Linked DNA regions of Homo sapiens: all the other regions are linked to region 1. The links are contacts of gene promoters, found by promoter capture Hi-C in blood cells and fetal thymus (Javierre and others, 2016). All regions are on one chromosome and are shown on one strand. The core of a region is centred on a gene start or on the middle of the fragment in contact, and the rest is flanking DNA. Distances in the headings are between cores, read along the strand shown. Region 1 holds the start of DDX10 (DEAD-box helicase 10). Region 2 overlaps ATM (ATM serine/threonine kinase). Region 3 overlaps ATM (ATM serine/threonine kinase). Region 4 overlaps ATM (ATM serine/threonine kinase). Region 5 overlaps NPAT (nuclear protein, coactivator of histone transcription). Region 6 overlaps ATM (ATM serine/threonine kinase). Region 7 overlaps NPAT (nuclear protein, coactivator of histone transcription).

Region 1 (3,458 bases), core at 532-3,031:
TTACATTCTCATTGTTGTGCAACCAATCTGCAGAACTCTTTTCATCTTACCAAACTGGAACTCTGCACTGATTAAACAGTAACCCCCTGGTTGCCTGAGTCCCTGGCAACCACAAGTCTACTTTCTCTATTATTTTGACAACTCTAAGTTTCTCATATAAATAGAACCATATATAGTATTTGTCCTTTTGTGACTGGCTTATTTCACTTAGCTTAATATTCTTAAAGTTTATCCACGTTGTGGCATGTGTCAGAAATTCCTTCTTTATGAAGGCTGAATAATATTCCATTTTAGGTACATATTATGTTTTGTTTACTCATTCATCAGTTGATAGACACCTGGGTTGCTTCCACATTTTAGCTATAGTGCTGTGGTGAACACGGTATGCAAATATCTGAGACCCTGCTTTCGATTATTTTGGCTATGCATACCCAGAAGTGAAATTGCTGGCTCACGTGGAGTTCTATTTTTAATTTTTTGAGGATGTATATACACTTTCATGTAATCACTCCTTATTGAGCTTTACTGTCTACCACATCTAGTGTTCCTGAGTGTGGAAATTCTCTTGTTCACCTCCTGTCCTCACTCCCTTCCAATAAGCCATGTCTTGTTTGGAGGATGGGCATAGAGTTGAGAGTAGTGATCTGGATATGTGGGGTTGGAAAGGAAATTTGAGAGCCCAAAATTCTGCCTGTGAACTTTGAACTCAATTTTCCAATCTCCTTTGCTACAGCTAAGCTCTCCCACCCACATCCGGTGTTTTCCTGGAGGCTGTAGGTAAATGTGTCAAAAAATTCAATTCATTGAAAGCCAGTTCACTTAAATGTCCAACTTGCAATAACTTTTCTATTACCTCCTTTTTTTTTTTTTTTTGACGGAGTTTCACTCTTTCACCCAGGCTGTGGTGAAGTGGGGCGATCTTGGCTCACTATAACCTCCGCCCCCGGGGTTCAAGCGATTCTCCTGCCTCAGCCTCCCAAGTAGCTAGGATTATAGGTGTGCACCACCACGCCTGGCTAATTTTTGTATTTTTAGCAGAGACAGGGCATCACCATATTGGCCAGGCTGGTCTCGACCTCCTGACCTCAGGTGATCCACCCACCTCGACCTCCCAAATTGCTGGAATTACAGGCGTGAGCCACCGTGCCCGGCCTCTATTACCTACCTCCTTACGTTTAGTTATCATTTTGTCTCCATAAAAGCATTTTAAGGCAAATTCAATTTGATTCCGTTCCAGTTTCCTTGCTGTTGCAGCTAGAGTCTGAGGGGCCCAGAGGAAAAGGAAAACCCAGAGGGGCATAAGAAGAATATAGAATATTCATTTTTATTCCTGAGGAAGTACAACCACCATGGATGGAAATCAGAAGTCACTAACTAGCTGTTTACTTCTGGGCAAATCTTTTGGCTCGTTGGCCCGAAAAGTGCAAAACGAGGGTCACAATTTTCATTCACAGATTGTATGTGTTTACACACATACTCACGAACGCTTAGCAAAGTTGAACCTGGAGCAAATGTGTTAATAGCCCTTAAAGGGTCAGTGTATGACGTCACCATAGTAACAACAACAGTGCGCATGCGTTTTTTTTTAAAGAGCCGGCGTGCTCCCGGCTCGGCTCAGCTCGCCCCCTTCCGTGGAGTGCTGCGCCCCCGTTTCCCCAGGCTGCCCCTCCCAGCAGGAGCCAATTCGCCAATCACAGCCCTCCTTTTCCTGACGTCATTGGCGCGTGCCCCGGTTTCAAAAGCTCGGGGGCGGGCTTCTGAGTTCGCGCATGCGCCTCTGTGCGTTTGTCCCATGCTGGTTCCGTGAGTCTGGCCTTAGGTGTCTCGTGTCTGGGGTTGATCCGAGCTGTCGCCGCCGCCGCCGCAATGGGCAAAACGGCCAACTCTCCGGGTTCGGGAGCCCGACCCGACCCGGTGCGGAGCTTCAATCGCTGGAAGAAAAAACACAGCCATAGGCAGAACAAAAAGAAGCAGTTGAGGAAGCAACTGAAGAAACCCGAATGGCAGGTCGAGCGCGAGAGTATCAGCCGCCTCATGCAGAACTATGAAAAGGTGAGGCCGGCGCTGGGGAGGGGGCTCGGGCCGGCCAGCAGCGGGGCAGCGTCTCACTGCGGCGAGGAGTTGCAGAGTGGAGGCGGCGGATCTGTCACCGGGACCCGGCCGGGAATGAGAGGTCACGCCGGGTGCCACAGCTCAAACCTCTGCACCGTTCTGGCCACTCTTCTGCTTGCCACACTGTTCCTAAAAAAATAATAGAAATGCGGCCGTACCTAAGGGTAGGGAGACTAATGCTGTAATAGCTACAGTCATATTCATATTAATAATACTGATGACAATAGTGGTAATAATGACACCTACATTTTTAAGCACTCACCATGTGCTTACAGTAATTGTTTGACTTGATCTGAGGTATGGATATTAATAATCCTATTTAACAGATGAGATAATTGAGGTTCTAAGAGGAATGAAACTTGTCCGAATCTTTCACGCTTAGTAGGTGGTGTGGAATTGGAAGCTAGATCCATGTCTTTCTAATCCCAAAGCCTTTGCTTTTAACCATGAAGCCAGACTGCATCCCTCAACATCATCTATGCTCCTTCCTGTGGCCACCTCATTTTCTCCACAGGCTTCATGTCCCCATCCAAGAATTGGCCTAGAAAAGCTGGACCGCTGGTCTGTTTCTGTCACCTATCATCCCCACATTGTAGCTGGTGTTCCCAGATGAGTATACCTGTAATGATCACTTTGACCTCCTGACTTCTTCCCCCAACCTCCAGACTCCACAGGTCTGTCAATTCCTCTTTTCCCTTTCCCTAAATCCCATGTTTGTTGGTCTTCACCCACATCTTTCAGCTTCTCAGCCCCCTTCTAGTGCAGTACAATCAGGGATTTAACAGATGGAACATTCTTGTAACTAAGGTTGCCATTGTAACAAATTACCACAAACTTGGCGGCTTAAAACAACAGAGATCTTGAGGTCAGGAGTTCGAGACCAGCCTGACCAACATGGTGAAACCCCGCCTCTACTAAAAATACAAAAAAATTAGCTGGGCCTAGTGGTGGGTGCCTGTAATCCCAGCTACTCGGGAGGCTGAGGCAAGAGAATCGCTTGAACCCGGGAGGCAGAGGTTGCAGTGAGCCCAGATCGCACCATTGCACTCCAGACTGGGTGACATGAGTGAGACTCTGTCTTAAACAAACAAACAAAAAAGCCCAGCAACAACAGAGATTTACCTTGTCACAGTTCTGGAGGCCATACGTCTGAAATCAGTTTCACTGGGCCAAAATCAAGGTGTCAGCAGGGACTTGCTCCCTCCAGAGGTTCTAGGGGAGAATCTGTTTCCTGCCTCTTGTAGCTTCTGGTGGCTGCTGGCATTCCTTGGCCTGTGGCTGCATAACTCCAGTCTCTGCCTTCTCCTGTGTCAGTCTATCTCTGTTCCTCTGTTATAAGGGCGCTT
Region 2 (3,542 bases), core at 984-3,483, 360 kb before region 1:
ACAAATGTTGATTTAATGTGATATTTTGCCACAACTAATCTGCTCCTCCCAATCCTTCCAGTCACTTCAGCAAAGGTTGTGATTACTCAGTTCTTCCAATTGTTTCTTTTAGTTTTACTGCTACAACCTTCATTTGACATGACTCTAATGTCATTTAGACTTCAGTTTGCTATGCTTTATATTTTATGTATTTTATTTTCTGTTGGCTAACAGCAATTACAAATCTACTATTTGGAAAAATATAAATTATAAACATAGACATAGATGCCCATCCTGTGATCCTACTAGATTATAGGCTGTTCTCTAAATGATCTAGAATGTGCTTATATGAATTTTCCTTAGGCCACTGAAATGAAAATCCTAAAATAAAAATTCTCATAGAGGCTTTGTAAACTATCTAAAATGTATCTCTTATCTTTAATTGGGAAAATACAGGTATAAGTGATTTAAGCATTTAAAACTTTAATATGTAATTTACAGTACTATTAAAAACAATTTTTATTACATAGTTTAAGGTAATCATTGTTTATGATAATCTGGTAATTTGTTATCATGAACATGGCCAAGACTTTTTTCATGTTTATCACTTATGTATTTATGTCACAACCATTGGAAGGTAAAGTAACTGTTTTATTTTATCTGTATACAGTGCCAATATTTTTATTACCTTAAGTGAAAATTTAAACTTCACATATAAAATTCTGTTATTGAAAAGGAAATACATATTTTTGTAAAATTTAAATGGTGTATCTTTTCTGATGGCTATAAGCCTCATTGCCTTCACTAAACGTCCCATGTGCATCTCAAACTCAGCTGTCCAAAAGCAAACGTGTCATCTTCTTCATCCCTTCCCCCAGCCTACTTTTTTAAATGTGTACCTTTTTGACAAATGGCACTCAGTTGCTTACTCTAGAAACCTCTCTCACGTATTTCATCTGATTACCAAATCTTGCCAATTCCATATTATGAATAACTTAGTCCATTTGTTTCTCTCTGCCCTTAGCATCCTTACTGCTTTCTAGCTCCATGATTTAGCACAGTTGAAATTCTTTCATTAAATTTTCCAAGTTATTTCTTGCTTCCAGCCATCTCAGATATTATTATTATTGCCTGTAGCACTATCCTTTCCTGCTCTGATGACTATTACTCTTCTTTCAGATATCACTTTTTCTTTTTTCTTTTTTTTTTTTCTTTTTTTCTCTTGAGACAGAGTCTCGCTGTGTCACCCAGGCTGGAGTGCAGTGGTGCAATCTCGGCTCACTGCAACCTCTGCCCCTCAGGATCAAGCAATTCCCGTGCCTCAGCCTCCTGAATAGCTGGGATTACAGATGTGTGCCAGCATGCCCTGCTAATTTTTGTGTTTTTAATAGAGATAGGGTTTCACCATGTTGGCCAGGCTGGTCTCAAACTTGGCCTCAAGTGATCCGTCCGCATCAGCCTCCCAAAGTGCTGGGATTACAGGCATGAGCCATTGCACTTGGCCAGTATCACTTTTTCTATGAAACTTTTCTTGTCTAGGTGAGGTTCCCTCTGCTAAGCTTCTGTAGCATTTTAAACTTTCCTATTATAACACTTATCATATTGTGTTGTAATGTCCCAGGCTAGTCAGTGAGTTCTGTGTGGTCTGACATGATCTGTCTTGTTCATGCTTATATACTGAGGACCTAGCACATAAAAGATCTTATTGAATCAATTAATTAGTCCTCCTTTGAAATAAAATATAAATTACAATGTAAGTTCTCACTTTTTTTAAGATAACAGTTTCTTTTAAAAGCAAAAGAAATCCTATTAAATTCCTTCAGAACCAATTTTGTGTTAGGTACTGCCCACCAGAACCTTATAGCATAGTGGGAGACAGACACATAAACAAGAAGGAAGAAGGTGTGTAAGCAAGAATGCCTGGGACTGAGGGGAGATATTTTTGTTTGTCAGAGTCAGAGCACTTTTTCCGATGCTGTTTGGATAAAAAATCACAAAGAACAATGCTTGCTGTTGTGGACTACATGAGAAGACAAAAGAGGTAATGTAATGAGTGTTGCTTCTTACGTTTAGGATCTAGAGTGTAACTTGTTAACTATCGGCTGAATTTTAACATGATTATTTTAGGTGAAGGTGTTGCAAAGTGTTATATTTAATTTGTGTGATATTTATATCTCCTTGCAGTAATCCATATTCAGGATAGCAGTTTGGTTAAATCAGTGTCAAGAACTCTCAATTCTAGTACCAGCTGTACCAGTAACCATGTTACCTTTGTTAAATTATGCAGCCTTCTTGGCTCCAATTTATTTCATCTATGTTAGGGATAGGAGCAAGTGTTTTTCCAAGTTACATTTAGCTGTATTACCCCTCTTTTTACTTTTCTCTTTGCTTTAGTTCTAAGAAGTAAATAGAGTTGTGTAAATGTCTTCTTTATGTATCTTTATTTTAAGATGTAAGTTTCTTTACTGTGTGCAGTGGTCTCAAAATCTGTGGCAATACTGTGCTGTGACAATGTTTATTTTCTTGTTTCTGGTAAATTGTTTTATAGTATAGTATCTTTGTTCCTGTTATTTCTCATGAGATTTTTAACAGTGCATACAGAAATTGCTAGAATGGATGGTCTGACTGATGAGTACTGCTTGAGAGTTGACCAGAACTCTGAAGAAATAGTGTAGTAGGCCTATAATTTGAATAGGTAGGAATCGATGTCTCATAAGTGTGTATGGTGGTGGTAGGGGTGGTTGGTAAAGAATGAGAGGGAGAGGTGAGTGAAAAATGAAATGTTTTTAAGCCTAAATGCATTAATATCTTAAAAAATTAATTCCTATGTAGTCTTAAACCATTCTTCTTCTCTAGTAGAAAAAGAAGTTTTATGCTTTTCAGTGTCTTTGCTTCTGGTTATTTTACCTTAGAGTTTTATACCAGATTATCTTCTGAGGAGGCCTATCAGAAGCTTTAATGTAGTGGAGAGCATTTGTTTTCTTGGTGTTGGGAGGCAGTTTTACCTTTGAGTCATTCATTTCAGACTTACCATTGGGGTAGAATGGTGTTGACATTAGCAGGAGTTGGAGAAGATAAAAATTCTTCATATTCCATTTTAATGCTGAATAAGATCCTGAAGAATATTCCTGGAGAAAGTATGAATGGGATATAGAAAAACGGGTAAAGACATGCATTCAAGTCCAAGCTTGTGCTGTGTAAAAATTACTTGTTATCCTGTACAGTATGTTGGGCAAAAACAAAGAACAACAATAAAACAACAACAACAAAAAAATTGCTTGCTGTCTTTGAACCTCAGTCTTATCATCTTTCAAAATCAGAATAATGTCTGTAGTGTCTTCCTTTCCATGGGGAAATTATTTCACTTCTCTGAACTTAACATTCATCGGAAAATTAACTTTAGTTGAGTGCTTGCTGTGTAGTAGGGTGTGCCTTATTCATCAGCTTTGCAGGCATTATTTAATTGTTGCACCCATTCTCCAAGGTCCATGTTGTTCCAGCATTTGCAAGTAAGGAAACTAGGAAACTGAGGTTTAAGAAGTTAAGTTGCTGAAGATCACACA
Region 3 (3,520 bases), core at 413-2,912, 310 kb before region 1:
ATACTTGAAATGACAAAATTATAAAAATGGAGAACAGATTAGTGGCTGCTAGAAAAATAGGGGGTCAGAGGGCTGGGTGATAGGCTATGGGAGGGAAATAGGTGCAGCCGTAAAGGGCAGTATGAAGGATCCTTATGATAGGAATATTATATATCTTGACTGCATCGATGTCAGTAGTAGTATAGTTTTGCAGGACATTACAGTTGGGGTGAAATGGGGAAAAGGCATAAGGGATGATCTTTTCTGTATGATTTCTTACAACTCGAAGTGAACATATAATTATCTCATAAAATGTCATTAATTTTTTTTTTTTGATGGAGTTTCACTCTTGTCGCCCAGGCTGGAGTGCAATGGCACGATCTCAGCTCCATGTATCCTTCACCTCCCAGGTTCAAGTGATTCTCCTGTCTCAGCCTCCCGAGTAACTGGGATTATAGGCACCTGCTACCACACCCAGCTAATTTTTGTATTTTTAGTGGAGACAAGGTTTCACCATGTTGGCCAGGCTGGTCTCTTAACTCCTGACCTCAGGTGTCAGGCCTCCTCAGCCTCAAGGTGCTGGGATTACAGGCGGGAGCCACCACACCCAGCCTAAAAATTTTTTAAATATAAATATATCATCTCCATTTTAAATTATACCAGTAGTTACTTCATTTTTAAAAATCACCCTTTAACCTAGATTTCTCTAGTTGGGTTAAGAAGTAGTTAGGTTATTTGGATTTGAGGTGGATCTCACAGACAGTGACAAAGATGAGGAAGGCAGCCAGAGCAGAAGTAAACTACTGTACATACTAGTGTTCATAGAACGTAGGTAACATGTGGTTTCTTGCCTTTGTAAAGTTCACATTCTAACTGGAAAGAAAGTAAATTAGCTGTCAAACCTCCTAACTTCACTGTATTCTTTACTTTAGGTGTTGCTTTTGAACAGGGCAAAATCCTTCCTACTCCTGAGACAGTTCCTTTTAGACTCACCAGAGATATTGTGGATGGCATGGGCATTACGGGTGTTGAAGGTGTCTTCAGAAGGTAAGTGATATGAAGTAAAGGAGGGAAATAATTTTTGATGTCAAAATTACATGGGCTGGGCATGGTTCTTTGCACCTGTAATCCCAGCTGCTCAAGAGGCTGAAGTGGGAGGATTGTTTGAGCCCAGGAGTTTGAGTCCAGCCTAGGCAATACAGCAAGACCCTGTATCTAAAAAAATACACACACACAAACACACACACACACACACACACACACACACACACACGGGTTAGAGATTTGTATAGATTATAGAATTTAGTGCTAGAATCGTATTCCAGTGCCTTATCAATACTAAGGAAAAGACCCTGGGTAAAAGCAATAATAGTTCCTCTTCCTTCCACCCACCTGGGACCTAAGCCCATGTAACATACATACTGTTATTCCAAACCTCCTCTGGAAGCATCCCACCTTTACTTTTAACACCTCTATCCTGGCTGACTCCTTCTTAATGATCCAAACTACTATTGGGTGCTCATCACTGTGCATATAGAAGAGACTACATTTTTATTTATAGGAGCTTGTGTTCTAGTATAACATTGTGCTACTAAAAAAGCTTTGCAGTTCCTTGTAGTTTTCCCAGCATAGGTCTGTGTACTCAACTTGGATTGGGGCAGATTGCAGTCAGTGTAAACTAATAATTGCCACAATAATCAAAGACTGAGAGCTGAGCCCAGTGGTGCATGCCTGTAATCAATAGTGTTGTGTTATTCTTGTAAATGCCAAGCTTGTGAAATAGTCAAATACATATTTGTATTCATTTCAAACGTCTAATGAAAGCCCACTCTGCCAAGTATTATGCTATTTTGAGATACAGATATGTAGATTATTAAGCATAGGCTCAGCATACTACACATGAGAGTATACAGATAAAGATACGTTGACAACATTGGTGTGTAACAAAATCCGTATTTATAATGTGTTTGACTCTAGATGCTGTGAGAAAACCATGGAAGTGATGAGAAACTCTCAGGAAACTCTGTTAACCATTGTAGAGGTAAAGTATTTTATAAGGAAGACTTTATTTTTTTTCTTACCAGGTAGACTGTGTATCTCATCAGGAAGTCACTGATGTGAAGAGCACTGCTTCATTTTAACATAGGGGGATGTGGCTGGGCAGCAGAAAGGAGGAGATTGTGCACTTAGCCTTTTCACACATCCAAAAATACTGGTTTAGAAATGCCTTCAGCCCCCTTGAGTTTCTTGGAATGTTAGAGCATTGTAAGTAGTCTCTAGTTTTCAATTCATAAATCAATTCTTTGACATTTAGATATTCCATATGGTATTATTATTTTCAGAATGGTTTCCATTAGGGTTTAAGAAAAATCAGAAATTTATATCTCCTTTTTCCCTGCTCAGGTTCAGAACTAATTAGTCAGACAAATGGAGATCAAATTGTCAGCATCATTACTAGAGGAACATGGCTTAGGAATGAGGGCCAGACTAGTTTACTGCTGGTGCTACCTCAGTACCTCTCTGCTGTCTTAACTTTGGGACAGCTCACCTGAATAGGGTTTGGGCCTGCAGAGCAAACACATGTAATCAGGATCACTGCCTTGTCTTGATCCAGGGCAGAAAAAAGGAAGTCAAACAAATTTCAGTGTCTGTGCTGTTAGTACCTATGCCAGTCATTCACCAATCTGGTAAGGGTATGTGAGACAAGAAATCAGGAGTGTGGCCTCCCCAGGGAAGCATGGCAGGTAGAGTGCAGTATGGGCTTGCCACTTTTCCACTACTCAGCTTTTCTTCCTTTAACCTGATTTATGTTGGACTGGCTGCATGTTAGTATTACTTTTACTGCATTTAAAAAACATTGATGCTGATCAAATTCAAACCAGGTTTCTAGAGATGGGGCAGGAATATGTGCATTTTTAAAAATCTCTCCTACTGTTCAACTAGGATATGAGAACTGTCTTAATTCATTGGCATTAACCATTAAGCCTGTGGTCAATAAGGGTGGGGCTTTATCCCTTGGAAGATGAGTAACAGTCCATCAGGGTGGTCCTGTGTGCACCTTTATGAACCGAGGCATCTTTATAGATCTCCTTTGGACTGCAGATGGTAATACAGATTTTGCTACAAGGAGTTTGCTGAAATAGGTCCCAATAATACGTTGGTAAAATTAAATCCAAGGCTGTGCTATTCCCAAGGTTAAAAATACATTCTTTTTTCTTTTACCGATTTCAAATTCTGTTCATACATGTTGTCATTTGTTACAGTTTGCCATTGGTTCTGCAGTAAGAATAAATGATAAGAAAATAAGCATGATGTGTAACATTTTAAAAAAATAATACATGGTAACATGGATGCCTCAATAATGTCGAAATTAAACTCTAAAGTTATATTATCTTGCACTTTTTCATGTAAGAAAAAGAGGGCTGGGCGCGGTGGCTCATGCCTGTAATCCCAGCACTTTGAGAGGCCGAGACAGGTGGATCACCTGAGGTCAGGAGTTCAAGACCAGTTTGGCCAACATGGTGAAACCCCGTCTCTAATA
Region 4 (2,588 bases), core at 89-2,588, 330 kb before region 1:
CCGACACAGCAAAACCCTGTCTCTACTAAAAATGCAAAAAACAGCTGGGCATGGTGGTGGGCACCTGTAGTCCCAGCTACTCGGGAGGCTGAGGCAGGAGAATCACTTGAACTCGGGAGGCGGAGGTTGCAGTGAGCCAAGGTTGCGCCATTGCACTCCAGCCTGGGCAACAAGAGCGAAACTCTGTCTCAAATTAATTAATTAATTAATTAATTAAAATTGGTTCAAAATTCCTTAATATTTGTCAAAGCATAGGAGATACCAGTAGTAGTTTACTTTTTTCCTCAAAGCAGTTGGCAAAGTGAAACAATAGATTTTGAAAGGCACCTAAGTCATTGACGAGAGTATGTATCTTTGATGTATTTCATTTATGACTGTTTTGTTTGTATCTGAGGAATTATAATCATTCCATTGTCTAGATTTGTGCATAAATTCTGTTTTTCTCTTTGTTTTTCTAACTCTGAGAAGTTTAAATGTTGGGTAGTTCCTTATGTAATGTTTTTTGTTTTTTATTAATAGGATCGAACAGAGGCTGCAAATAGAATAATATGTACTATCAGAAGTAGGAGACCTCAGATGGTCAGAAGTGTTGAGGCACTTTGTGATGCTTATATTATATTAGCAAACTTAGATGCCACTCAGTGGAAGACTCAGAGAAGTATGTTTTTTTTAAAGAAGAAACGTTACTTTCTTGCTGTGTTACTCTCTGTAGAGATATATTAGTTATAGAGCCTAATAAGTAAATCTGCTTAAAATCACAAACGTAATCCAAAAGCTTAATTTATATCTGATGGCTTCAGCATTCCCTGGTTACTTTTTCACTTAATATCTCTTAATAGAACTGGTAATAGGTGACTACACTAAATTAATTATTTGATTTCTTCTGATAATCTTCTGGCATACATACTTATTACAGAGAATTGCATAATAGAGGCAAGTCTATTAAAATAATTGAATAACTGAACATTTCTAGCCTCAAAAGTTTTTTTAAACGATGTGGTTACTAAAACTGCCCTGGGACTTAAAAACAAAAAAAGGCTTTACCATTTCTTCCATAGGTGCTAAAATGCCATTATTTAATTATTATTCTTGCTGTGTCAGTTCAAATAATTACAAGCTGCTATATAATCTTTGGTTTTGTGACTAGTCTCTAAGTATGCTTCTAAGTATCTCCCCATACTTTAATAATTGTATTTTTTTCTATTCAGAATCATATCTTCAAGTTTAAATTCTTATTACTTGAAAACGAATGGGACTTCACATATTGTTTCTCTAAGCAAACAAAAAGTATTGACATGTCTTTTAGTTGCATTTAATGGTAATGTGACAGGAGTATGTTATCTATGTACTATGCAAACTATTACGTAATTATTTTAAGATGTTTAGTCTGGTTCCTCAGGTGGAATCTGGTCTAGTTACCCTTGTCAGGTAACCTGCAAATTTACTTGAAGCTACATTAACCACTGTTGAGCTTTGACTCTGAGCTGCATAGTGGCCAAAGCCCAGAGTCTTCATTTCTCAATCAGAGCCTGAACCACAGATTAGCAACAAGTTGGGGCCAGTGGTATCTGCTGACTATTCCTGCTTGACCTTCAATGCTGTTCCTCAGTTTGTCACTAAAATCTCTTCATTTTTAAATACAGAAGGCATAAATATTCCAGCAGACCAGCCAATTACTAAACTTAAGAATTTAGAAGATGTTGTTGTCCCTACTATGGAAATTAAGGTAATTTGCAATTAACTCTTGATTTTTTTTAAACTAAATTTTTTTTATTAGATTGAACCATTTGAAATAGTATTTTTATGTAGGTCAAAATTGGTTAAATATTGGCAAATTTCATATGTTTCAACCTATAATTTCTCAGTATTATATTTCCTTTGCCCAAGCCCTAAAATACTCAAAAGCTTCTCCTGCTTTCTTTTCCATTGCCTTCTGTTCTACACCTCCCATCTTTCTTATGAAGGTCTATAGACTGTTACTTTCATTGGCCAGAAGGAGAGTTTCCGTGTGCTTATGCCAAGATTAATTTTTGACTTGGCAAGGAAGGTTCCAATTGTCATATATTGTTTTTAAAAATTCTATGTGCAGTAAAATGTATTGGCTGTGATATATCACAGTATTAAGTAATATAGTATGTATTATTATAATATTAAGCTGACTTCATATGCATGATACACTTAGCTCTGTTCTAATATTCTTTTATTGCAAGAAATAATGGAAGTAATTTCATGTGGGCAGGGATATATGTAATAAGGGTTATAAGTTTAGAAAATGATCATCTTAAATACATTGTCTTTCTTTTCATTTTGCAGTTTAGTGCTTAGTATCTAGTTACTTGATTTGAAATGTAGCTGTATCATGTGGATTAACTGCTGTTTTTCTAGCTATATCAGCTAGGTGATTTCGCTGAATGTTTCCTTAAAATGCCAGATTTAGCAGTTATAACCCAGAAAACTCCTTCTACTGTTTTCCAAAATTTACTTTATGTTTTCGTGAGGAGTTATTTCTCAGATGACTTTACATATATTAGTGAATCTTTGATGAAACAGTAGTTAAAGTTACGAGCGTGAGCCACCACACCCGGCCT
Region 5 (3,478 bases), core at 4-2,503, 470 kb before region 1:
AGCCACTGAGTATCAGATACAATATGAGTAGAAATGGACATCTGTAAAATCTCTGAAGCATTTTTTGGCCAATAATTTTACACCTTCATTTTATTAAAAAAAGGAGAAACAATTTTTTGATCTTTGTTCTATCTGATATCATGTGACATATGAAAGTGAATTAAAGTAATCTGTCTTATAATAATTATCATAAAGGTTATGCAAATTCCTTATAAGTGTGGAAATTTAATCCTCAATTTTCTCATATTTAAAAATGGCTTTAAACAATCTCTCTCACTGGGTTATTCTAAAGACTAAATGAGAGGCCGGGCATGGTGGCTCACGCCTGTAATCCCAGCACTTTGGGAGGCTGAGGTGGGCAGATCATGAGGTCAGGAGTTTGAGACCAACCTGGCCAACATAGTGAAACCCTGTCTCTACTAAAAACACAAATATTAGCTGGGCATGGTGGCGTGCGCCTATAGTCCCAGCTACTCGGGAGACTGAGACAGGAGAACTGCTTGAACCCGGGAGACGGAGGTTGCGGTGAGCCGAGATCGCGCCATTGCACTCCAGCCTGGGCAACAGAGCGAGACTCCCGTCTCAAAAAAAAAACAAACAAAGAAAAGACTAAATGAGAAAAAAAACATATGAAAGCACGTAGCACAATGCTTATACACAGACAATGTCAAAAAATGTCAAGCTTCTTTTCCTTTGTTATCATCTTATGCGAATTCTTTAGTGCTAATTGTTTTGTTAATGTTGTAAGCTATTGAAAATAATCAATATTAGAGAATAAGCAGTCAAAACTTTCCCTCTAAAACATCCTTAATTTAGGCAAGTAGAATTTTATATTCTAGTAACTATAAGCCAGTGTATGACTGGCTTCTGTGTTCAGACTTAGACTACATAGAATTAAAATTAAAATGTCAGTTTAAAACTTTTTAACACATAGTGATGTCTGTTTATCAGTGTAGATAACACAGAGGTAAGAGTTTTATTTTACATATTTTTTAAAGGTAGTTTTTGGGTTATTTTTGCTAACATAAAGATTGTTGCAATTTATGTACCACTCAATGTAAACACAAACAAATGGCTGGGGGCAGTGGCTCACACCTGTAATCCCAGCACTTTGGGAGGCCGAGGTGGGTGGATCACCTGAGGTCGGGAGTTCGAGACCAGCCTGACCAACATGGAGAAACCCTGGCTCTACTAAAAATACAAAATTAGCCGGGCATGGTGGCGCATGCCTGTATTCTCAGCTACTTGGGAGGCTGACTGAGGAGAATCGCTTGAATCCAGGAGCTGGAGGTTGCAGTGAGCTGAGATTACGCCACTGCACTCCAGCCTGGGCAACAAGATTGAAACTCCGTCTCAAAAAAAACCAAAAAAACAAAAAACAACAACCAAAAAAACAAAACAAAACAAAAAACCAAAACCCACAAACAAATTAGATGTGTCCCAGAAAAATTTATCTCATTACAACAGGGACAAGTTTTTTCAAGGCTTTTATGAGACATTAATAACCTTTAGAAATCATTTTTAACTAAATCAAGTAGATAAATATTGTATACATCAGCAAAAAAACTCCAAATCAGAACTCTTACCTTTTGTTTTCATAGCTACATACTCATTTAAAATTGTTGTCAAGTTTTTTCCAAATAAGGACTGAAAAGAAAAAGATCAAATATTACCAAAATTGTATAATACTACCAATAATTTCTCACAAGAAAAGATTCTACCATTCAACTTAATAAAAGATCTGACTGCAGAGTAGCGATGAGGAAAGGGTAAAGAAGCAGGTAATCGAAAATGAAAATAGCCACTGAAATTAGGGTTTGCATCCAAGCTTCTAAAGAATCTTGCCTGTTTGACTAGGACATTATAGCTACTTGGGTATCACTGCTTCCAGACCCTCTCAGCAGACAGCTATACATACATGTACAAATGCATATACACAAGCATTTGTATCATCTAGCTGTATATATATATATTAAAATAACTACAGTGTCATACCAATATCTCAGACTATAACCCAACACCACTGGTTTCATTATTATGTTTATTTGTATCTTCTTCCTCACACAGTGAGAAATCTGGCTCCCACTATCTACAATTTGTTATTTGTTCAGAATTGTTAATTTAGAAGAAATCAGAAGGATTTATTTAATATTCATCCACGTTATTGTGTGAATCAATAGCATGTTGCTTTCTATTGCTGAGTAGTGGAGTATTGCTGTTATGAACACATCAGAGTTTGTCAATTTTTGAAAGACATCTTCGTTGTCACCAGTTTTTAAAATTTATTTTTATTTTTTAGAGACAGGGTCTTGCTCTGTCACACAGGCTGGAGTACAGTGGCTGCTCACAGCTTACTATAGCCTCGAACTCCTGGCTTCAAGCCATGTTCCTACCTCAGCCTCCCACAGTGCTGGGATTAAAGGTGTGAGCCATCACGCCTGGCCTGTTTTCAGTATTTTTTTTTTTTTTTTGAGATGGAGTCTTGCTCTGTTGCCCAGGCTGGAGTGCAGTGGCACAATCTCGGCTCACCAAAACCTCTGTCTCCTGGGTTCAAGCGATTCTCCTGTCTCAGCCTCCCGAGTAGCTGGGACTACAGGCGCACGCCATCATGCCCAGCTAATTTTTGTATTTTTAGTAGAGATGGGGTTTCACTATCTTGGCCAGGATGGTCTTGAACTCTTGACCTCGCTATCCACTCGCCTTGGCCTCCCAAAGTGCTGGGATTACAGGTGTGAGCCACCACACTTAGCCTGTTTTCAGTTTTTAGCCACTATAAGCAAACACCAGTGTCTAGGTTTTTCTGTGAGAACAAGTTTTCCAATTGATTTGGGTAATGTGAGTGTTGGTTCACATGAGGAGTACATGCATAATCATATAATCATGTCATAATCATGTCAAACTGTTTTCAAAAGCCACTGTATGACTTTTAATTCTTACCAGTAAGAAACAAGAGTTCCTGCTGCTCTGCATATTTGTGGTGAAGGACTTGCCAGTTTTTAAACCTGTTTTCTTATTTTAGCCATTCTAACAGGAATTAGTATCTCACTGGGGTATTAATTTGCATTTTCTTAATGACTAATGATATGGAAGATCTTTTCATATGCTTATTGCCATCTGTATATTTTCTTTGGTAAAGTATCTTCAGATCTCTTATCCACTTAAAAAATTGTTTGGTTTTTGTTGTTAAGTTTTAAGAATTCTATACATATGTTCTGGGTACAAACCCTTTATCAGACATGTAAGATATAAATATTTTCACCCAGCCTTTTTTTTTTGGGACAGGGTTTTACTCTGTCACCCAGGCTGAAGTGCAGCCGTGCAGTTGTGGCTCACAACAGCCCTGACCTCCTGGGCTCATGCAATCCTCCAGCCTCATCCTCCCAAGCAGCTGGGACTAAGTGCACCACTATACCTGGCTAATTTTTAAAAATTGTTTTCTAGAGATGAGGTCTCACTATGTTGCCCAGGCTGGTACAGA
Region 6 (3,768 bases), core at 1,162-3,661, 390 kb before region 1:
TCAGGGACCCACTTGAGGAGGCAGTCTGTCCCTTAGCAGAGCTCGAGCGCTGTGCTGGGAGATCCGCTATTCTCTTCAGAGCTGGCAGGCAGGAACGTTTAAGTCCGCTGAAGCTGTGCCCACAACCACCCCTTTCCCCAGGTGCTCTGTGTCAGGGAGATGGGAATTTTATCTATAAGCTCCTGACTGGGGCTGCTGCCTGTCTTTCAGAGATACCCTGCCCAGAGAGGAGGAATCTAGAGAGGCAGTCTGGCTACAGTGGCTTTGTGGCACTATGTTGGGCTCCACCCAGTTCGAACTTCCTACTGGCTGTGTTTATACTGTGAGGGGAAAACATCCTACTGAAGCCTCAGTAATTGCAGACGCCCCTCCCCCCACCAAGCTTCAGTGTCCCAGGTCGACTTCAGACTGTTCTGCTGGCAGCGAGAATTTCAAGCCAGTGGATCTTAACTTGCTGGTCTCCATGGGGGTGGGATCCGCTGAGCTAGACCACTTGGCTCCCTGGCTTCAGCCCCCTTTCTAGGGGAGTGAATGGGTCCGTCTCGCTGGCGTTCCAGGTGCCACTGGGGTATGAAAAAACACTCTTGCAGCTAGCTCAGTGTCTGCCCAAATGGCCGCCCAGCTTTGTGCTTTAAACCCAGGGCCCTGGTGGTGTAGGCACCCAAGGGAATCTCTTGGTCTGCGGGTTGCAAAGACTGCGGGAAAAGCGTAGTATCTGGGCAGGAATCCACCATTCCTCACAGCATAGCCCCTCACAGCATAGTCCCTCACGGCTTCCCTTGGCTAGGGGAGGGAGTTCCCCGACCCCTTGTGCTTCCCGGGTGAGGCTACACCCCACCCTGCTTTGACTCTCCCTCCGTGGGCTGCACCCACTGTCTAACCAGTCCCAATGAGATGAGCCATCTACCTCAGTTGGAAATGCAGAAATCACCACCTTCTGCGTTGATCTCACTGGGAGCTGCAGACCAGAACTGTTCCTATGTTGCCATCTTGCTGTTCCCTTGTTTTATTTTTCTCTAGTATTTATGATAACGTGAAACATATTTTAATATATTTACTTCTCCGTATTCCACTAGTATATATGTTCCTAAAGGCACTGGTTTTTGTCTGTTCTGTTCATTGTTGTATTTTTAGCACCTAAAACAATACTTGGCATGTGATAGGTATCCAATAACTGTTTTAAAATAAATGAATGTACTTGAAAAAAAATTACATGATGCTTCAAAAACATCAAAGCTGAAAATCATTTGAGTAACTTTAAAATGTAAGCAATCAATAATAAAAGATTACTATATTGTTCAGCAGTCACATAAAGTATTAAAACTAATATTTCAGTATTTGAATATGCCGACAGTAATGTTTTCATAAACTAGATTTTGTGTCTAACTCCTCAGGTTTGGAACTGTTTTTAGTAAGACCATAATGCATTGCAAGGATTTCTAATGAATATGTTTAGTAGTTCAAGCCCTTATTAAATTTCACAGATAAAAGCAAATGTATGCTGAACTTTAAGGACTGAGGTAATATAAGACTGAATTGAATGTAATAAGGCGGCAGTGTAGTGGTGGCATTAAAAAAACTGAAGATTCAAAAAGTATAAATTCAAGAATAACATGCAAGTAGCATTCTTTTTTTTAATTTTACACTTGTTAGATTTTGTCTTAGTCCCTTTGTGTTGCTATAAAGGAATACCTGAGGCTGGATATTTACAAAGAAAAGAGGTTTATTTGGCATATGGCGTCTACATCTGGTAAGGGCCTCAGACTCATGGCAGAAGGCAAAGAGGAATCAGTGTGTGCAGAGATCACATGGTGAGAGAGGAAGCAAGGGTGGAGGCGGGGAAGGCCATGCCAGGCTCTTTTTTTTAATAACCAGCCCTTGTGGGAACTGAATAGTGAGAACTCACTCATTCCTTACCCTCAGGCCTTAATCTATTCGTGAGGGATCTGCCCCCATGACTCCGACACCTCCCATTAGGCATAACCTAATGGGGATCAGATTTCAACATGACATTTGGAGGGGTTAAACATTCAGACAATAGCAGATATCTAATGTTCAGCTATTTTAAGAGCAGTGAGTGAAACTAGAAGAATCAGAGGAACATAAACAATTATAAAAGCTTCGATTACTAAAAAAGGATAAAAGACAAAGTTGATTAAAGAGTTATCCTTAAATATGTGGGTGTTACGCAAAAGGTGTACTGATCAACTTTTTTCCATCACATAAAACAAAATTTAAATGGTACATAAAAACATTAACTTACCCGCTTTCAGAGTGATTAAATGTTAGAGCAGGTTGACATTGGAATCTGTGGACTCAACTAATTGGTGTTCGGCCAGAGAACAGTTTATCTTTTCTGGCTAGTTTGAGTTCAGTGCTGTTCAAATTTGAGCAATAGTTAAAATATATTTTGAGACCCTCTTCAGTTCTAGGAGAAAATAGATTTTGTATTCAAGACCTTAATACTAAGCTGCTGGTCTGAACCTCTTTAAATAAACTCAGGTTTTGTTAGTCTTTAAGAAAGAGCTAGTATGTTATTATGTCTCACAGAGTGATTTATTTTTGTTCTGGAATATGCTTTGGAAAGTAGGGTTTGAAATTAGAAAATTATTTCACTTTTTGTTTGTTTGTTTGCTTGCTTGTTTTAAGATTGTTCCAGGACACGAAGGGAGATTCTTCCAGGTTACTGAAAGCACTTCCTTTGAAGCTTCAGCAAACAGCTTTTGAAAATGCATACTTGAAAGCTCAGGAAGGAATGAGAGAAATGGTAATTTTAAGTAACATGTATTTGCTGTTATCATATGCTTGCTATGAATATCCCATAAATTACTTCACCAAGTTTGGTATAAGAGAGTTTATAATCCAGTAGTTTACAGTATAAAGCTGCTCTAAAACAACTGTATGAATTGATTGAAACTGCATTCTTTCTGGGTCACAATGGGTCAAATCATAGCAATTTCTTTTGGTTTAGCATTTTTATGGAGAAACCCAAAATTTAACTGAGTTTTTATGGGAGTATAAATGGCTCCCTTTTTTATTTTAAAAATCCTTTTATATGTGATCTGATTAAAAGCTAATTAAGGGAACAGGTGACAATGGGAAGAAATGGATTGAGGAGAAGAATCTCACACAAAATCAAATCATTGTGGTGTTTACAGTGAAACTTGTGATATTTCACGTTTCTGTAGAATAATATATTTTTTATGGTAATGATTATCTTAGAGTTCAAATTTTTTCATTTATTTATGCCCTGGTTTGTTTCTTACAAGTATTTAAGGTAGTTAAATAACTGTCAAGTCTGTGATAGCAGGAAATTGAAAGGAACAATTGAAAGAATGTGAGTTTAGAAAAGAATTTCAATAGATTAGAAAGATAAGTGTAAATAACATAAAATCTAATGAGATAATGTATATTATACATTTTAAATCAGCCTGTCATCTGCAAAAAGGGAAAATACTGATCTGACAGCAATTCATTTAGAAAAAGACCTAGGAAGTTTTGTATCTTGTGATTATAGTATGAATCAACATTGTATTACAGTTACCAAAAAGGCTAACTCTGTCTTACACTGCATTAATAGAAGCATATTGTCATGAACAAAGTTAATACAAGAACTTGGATCTTTTATACTTTTTGCTTTATTTTTAGATCTTTTAATTTTTATGGGTACATAGTAGGGGTGTGTGTGTGTGTGTGATACGGGTATACAATGTGAAATAATCACATCATGGAGAATGGGGTATCCATCCCCCAAACAAATATCCTTTG
Region 7 (3,407 bases), core at 868-3,367, 450 kb before region 1:
ACAAAAATTAGCTGCGCCTGGTGGTGTGTGCCTGTAATCCCAGCTACTCGGGAGGCTGGGACAGAATCGCTTGAACCAGGGAGTCAGAGGTTGCAGTGAGCCGAGATCGCGCCACTGCATTCCAGCTTGGCAACAGAGTGAGACACCGTCTAAAAAAAAAAAGAAAAGAAACAAAGTGAACATAAAAGTCCTCAACAGGGTGGGCACAGTGGCTCACGCCTGTAATCCCAGCACTGTGGGAGGCCGAGGCAGGAGGATTGCTTGAGCTCAGGAGTTCCAGACCAGCCTGGGCATAATGGCAAAAATGCCATCTCTACAAAAAATACAAAAGTTAGCTGGACATGGTGGTGTGCACCTGTGGTCCCAGCTACTTGGGAGGCTGAAATGAGAGGATCACTTGAGCCTGGGAAGTCAAGGCTGCAGTGAGCCATGATTGGGCCACTGCACTCCAGAATAGGTGACAGAGTGAGACCCTGTCTTCAGGAAAAAAAAAAAAAAAAATCCTTAACAAAATACTAGCAAATCAAGTCCAGCAACATATAAAAACAGTGATGCACCATGACCAAGTGGGATTTAATGCAGTAATGCAAGGTTGGTTGAATAAAAATAAATCAGTGTAATATACTATATCCCTAACGTAAAAGACGAAAGTCACATTATCATGGAAAAAGAACTGAACAAAATCCAACCAATCTGGGCAATATAGTGAGACCCCCATCTCTGCAAAAAATTAAAAATTTAGCTGGGTATGGTGGCATGTGCCTATAGTTCCAGTTACTTGGGAGGGTGAGGTAGAAGGATAGTTTTAGTCTGGGAGGCTGAGGCTGCAGTGGGCCATAATCATGCCACTGCAGTCCAGCCTGGATGACAGAGTAAGAACCTGTTTCAAAAGCAAAACAAAACAAAACAAAACTCTACCAAAGAAACCAAAAAAAACAAAATCCAACACCCTTTCATGATAAAAACACTAGAAATAAAAAGAAATTTCCTCAACCTCATAGAGTTATCTATTAAAAAAAAAAAAAGCCAAGTAACATCATCTTCAATGGTTTAAAATTCAAACCTTTCCCCATAAGATCAGGGAAAAGGTAAGAAGGTCTGTTCTTGTCATTTCTATTCAACATTGCATGTATCCTCTAGCCAGGGCAATTAGGAAAAAACTTGAAATAAAAAGCATCCAGGCCGGGTGCAGTGGCTCACACCTGTAATCCCAGCACTTTGGGAGGCCGAGCTGGGCGGATCATTTGAGGTCAGGAGTTCCAGACCAGCCTGCTCAACATGGTGAAACCCCGTCTCTACTAAAAATACAAAAATTAGCCAGGTGTGGTGGTGCATGCCTGTAATGCCAACTACTCAGGAGGCAGAGGCAGGAGAATTGCTTGAATCCGGGAGGTGGAGGTTGCAGTGAGCTGAGATAGGGCCACTGCACTCTAGCCTGGGCAACAGAGAGAGACTCCGTCTCAAAAGAAAAAAAAAAAAAGCATCCAGATTGGAAAGGAAAAAATCAAGATTACCCCTATTTGCAGATGACATGTCTTATATAGAAAATCCTAAGGAAGCCATAAAAAACAACAACAACAACAACAAAAAAACTATTAGAGGCCAGGCACCACGGCTCATACCTATAATCCCAGCACTCTGGGAGGCCAAGGCAGGCAGATTGCCTGAGGTCAGGAGTTCGAGACCAGTCTGGCCAACATGGTGAAACCCCGTCTCTACTAAAAATACAAAAAAATGAGCCAGGCATGGTGGTGTCCACCTTAATCCCAGCTGCTAGGGAGGCTGAGGCAGGGGAATCACTTGAACCAGGGAGGTGGAGGTTGCAATGAGCCGAGATGGTGCCATTGCACTCCAGCCTGGGCAACAGAGCAAGACTCTGTCTCAAAAAAAAAAAAAAAAAAAAAAAAAAAGGAGTTAAGAAACCTCCCTGGGCGGGGCATGGTGGCTCATGCCTATAATCCAGCACTTTGGGAGGCCAAGGCCAGCAAATCACCTGAGGTCGGGAGTTCGAGACCAGCCTGACCAACATGGAGAAACCCTGGTGCTACTAAAAATACAAAGTTAGCTGGGCAAGGTGATGCATGCCTGTAATCCCAGCTATTCCAGAGGCTGAGGCAGGAGAATCGCTTGAACCCGGGAGGCAGAGGTTGTGGTGAGCCAAGATTGCGCCATTGCACTCCAGCCTGGGCAACAAGAGCGAAACTCTGTCCCAAAAACAAAACGAAACAAAACAAAAACTATTAGAGCTAATAAATGACTTCGACAAGGTTGCAGGATACACAGTGAATATATAAAAGTCAATAAATCTCAATGAACTACCAAAAATTAAGAATGCAATGCTAGTTACAATAGCATCAAAAGAAATAAAATACTTAGGAATAAGTTTAACAAAAGTAAAGGACTTGCATACTAAAAACTGGAAAACGTCACTGGAGGAAATTAAAGACCTAAATCCACGCAAAGACATACTGTGTTCATGGACTGAAAGGTTCAATATTGTTAAAAACTCAATACTCCCAAAATTCACCGATACATTCAACACAATTCCTATCATAATCTCAACTGCCTTTTGTGCAGAAATTGACAAACATCCTAAAACTCCTAAGGTAATACAAGGGGGCTGGAATAGCCAAAATAATCTTGAAAATGAAGAAAAAGTTGAAGCACTTACACTTACCAATTTCAAAACTTACTGTAAAGCTACAGTAATCCAGACGATGTACGGGCATGAGGTTAGACACAGAAATTAGTGGAACAAAATAAAAAATCCAGACCTTTCTTATTTATCTAGTCAACTCTGAAGCATGGAATCCAGACATTTATGGTCAGTTTATTTTTTTTCAGAGACAGAGTCTTGCTCTGTCACCCAGGCTGAAGTAGAGTGGCTCAATCATAGCTCACTATAACCTTGAACTCCTGGGCTGAAGTGATCCTCCCACTTCAGCCAACCCAGTAGCTAGGACTAGAGGCATGTACCACCAAATAAATGCCCAGCTAATTACTTACTTATTGGTACAGATGGGGTGTCTCAGTATGCTGCCCAGGCTGGTCTCGCTCCCCTGGCTTCAAGCAATCCTCCTGCCTTGGCCTCCCAAAGTGTTGGGATTACAGGGTGAGCCATTACAGCTGGCCTGCATTTTTCATAACAGTGTCCATTAATGAATGGACAAACAAAATATGGCATATTCATATAATGAAATATTCAGCTATAAAAAGGAATGAAGTACTAATACCTGCTACAACATGGAATAAGGCTGAAAACATTATGCTATGTGAAAGTCAGACACAAAAAGCGAAATATTCTATTTCATTTATGTGCAATGTCCAGGCAAGGCACATGTATAGATACAGAAAGTAGATTTGTGGTTGGCAGAGGACGGGGCAAGGGGGAATTGGAAGTGACTTAA

Evidence for each region. Contacts are between HindIII fragments. The CHiCAGO score rates a contact against its expected background, and 5 or more counts as called.
Region 2: a fragment that was not itself captured here is called in contact with the fragment with the promoter of DDX10 in region 1 in 6 of 17 cell types (total CD4 T cells, naive CD4 T cells, naive CD8 T cells and 3 more); the score reaches 6.6 in total CD4 T cells.
Region 3: a fragment that was not itself captured here is called in contact with the fragment with the promoter of DDX10 in region 1 in 6 of 17 cell types (total CD8 T cells, total CD4 T cells, naive CD4 T cells and 3 more); the score reaches 7.4 in total CD8 T cells.
Region 4: a contact is called between a fragment that was not itself captured here and the fragment with the promoter of DDX10 in region 1, in 3 of 17 cell types (naive CD4 T cells, activated CD4 T cells and total CD4 T cells). The highest score is 6.1, in naive CD4 T cells.
Region 5: a contact is called between a fragment that was not itself captured here and the fragment with the promoter of DDX10 in region 1, in 2 of 17 cell types (total CD4 T cells and total CD8 T cells). The highest score is 6.2, in total CD4 T cells.
Region 6: a contact is called between a fragment that was not itself captured here and the fragment with the promoter of DDX10 in region 1, in 2 of 17 cell types (naive CD4 T cells and total CD8 T cells). The highest score is 5.3, in naive CD4 T cells.
Region 7: a contact is called between a fragment that was not itself captured here and the fragment with the promoter of DDX10 in region 1, in 3 of 17 cell types (total CD4 T cells, erythroblasts and naive CD4 T cells). The highest score is 6.5, in total CD4 T cells.

The regions. Positions count from the first base shown.
Region 1 is chr11:108,663,288-108,666,745 of GRCh38, forward strand. DDX10 (DEAD-box helicase 10) reads left to right here and starts at 1,782. Exons shown (of 18, transcript NM_004398.4): 1 at 1,782-2,052. The coding sequence starts at 1,867. The HindIII fragment of the contact is 12,853 bases long and covers 1-3,458 here.
Region 2 is chr11:108,305,965-108,309,506 of GRCh38, forward strand. ATM (ATM serine/threonine kinase) reads left to right here. Exons shown (of 63, transcript NM_000051.4): 38 at 1,933-2,020. It also overlaps a transcript of C11orf65 not described here. Among named protein-coding and RNA genes, the nearest start is that of ATM, 85 kb to the left of the region's middle. The HindIII fragment of the contact is 1,394 bases long and covers 1,537-2,930 here.
Region 3 is chr11:108,352,855-108,356,374 of GRCh38, forward strand. It overlaps ATM (ATM serine/threonine kinase), which reads left to right. Exons shown (of 63, transcript NM_000051.4): 60 at 912-1,026; 61 at 1,957-2,020. It also overlaps a transcript of C11orf65 not described here. Among named protein-coding and RNA genes, the nearest start is that of C11orf65, 110 kb to the right of the region's middle. The HindIII fragment of the contact is 171 bases long and covers 1,578-1,748 here.
Region 4 is chr11:108,332,243-108,334,830 of GRCh38, forward strand. ATM (ATM serine/threonine kinase) reads left to right here. Exons shown (of 63, transcript NM_000051.4): 53 at 520-658; 54 at 1,644-1,726. It also overlaps a transcript of C11orf65 not described here. Among named protein-coding and RNA genes, the nearest start is that of ATM, 110 kb to the left of the region's middle. The HindIII fragment of the contact is 1,130 bases long and covers 774-1,903 here.
Region 5 is chr11:108,192,371-108,195,848 of GRCh38, forward strand. NPAT (nuclear protein, coactivator of histone transcription) reads right to left here. Exons shown (of 18, transcript NM_002519.3): 3 at 1,587-1,647. Among named protein-coding and RNA genes, the nearest start is that of NPAT, 29 kb to the right of the region's middle. The HindIII fragment of the contact is 1,146 bases long and covers 681-1,826 here.
Region 6 is chr11:108,276,842-108,280,609 of GRCh38, forward strand. It overlaps ATM (ATM serine/threonine kinase), which reads left to right. Exons shown (of 63, transcript NM_000051.4): 23 at 2,650-2,767. Among named protein-coding and RNA genes, the nearest start is that of ATM, 56 kb to the left of the region's middle. RefSeq lists an enhancer at 295-1,094. The HindIII fragment of the contact is 588 bases long and covers 2,118-2,705 here.
Region 7 is chr11:108,211,063-108,214,469 of GRCh38, forward strand. The region is part of intron 1 of NPAT (nuclear protein, coactivator of histone transcription); the gene reads right to left. Among named protein-coding and RNA genes, the nearest start is that of NPAT, 9.9 kb to the right of the region's middle. The HindIII fragment of the contact is 5,376 bases long and covers 1-3,407 here.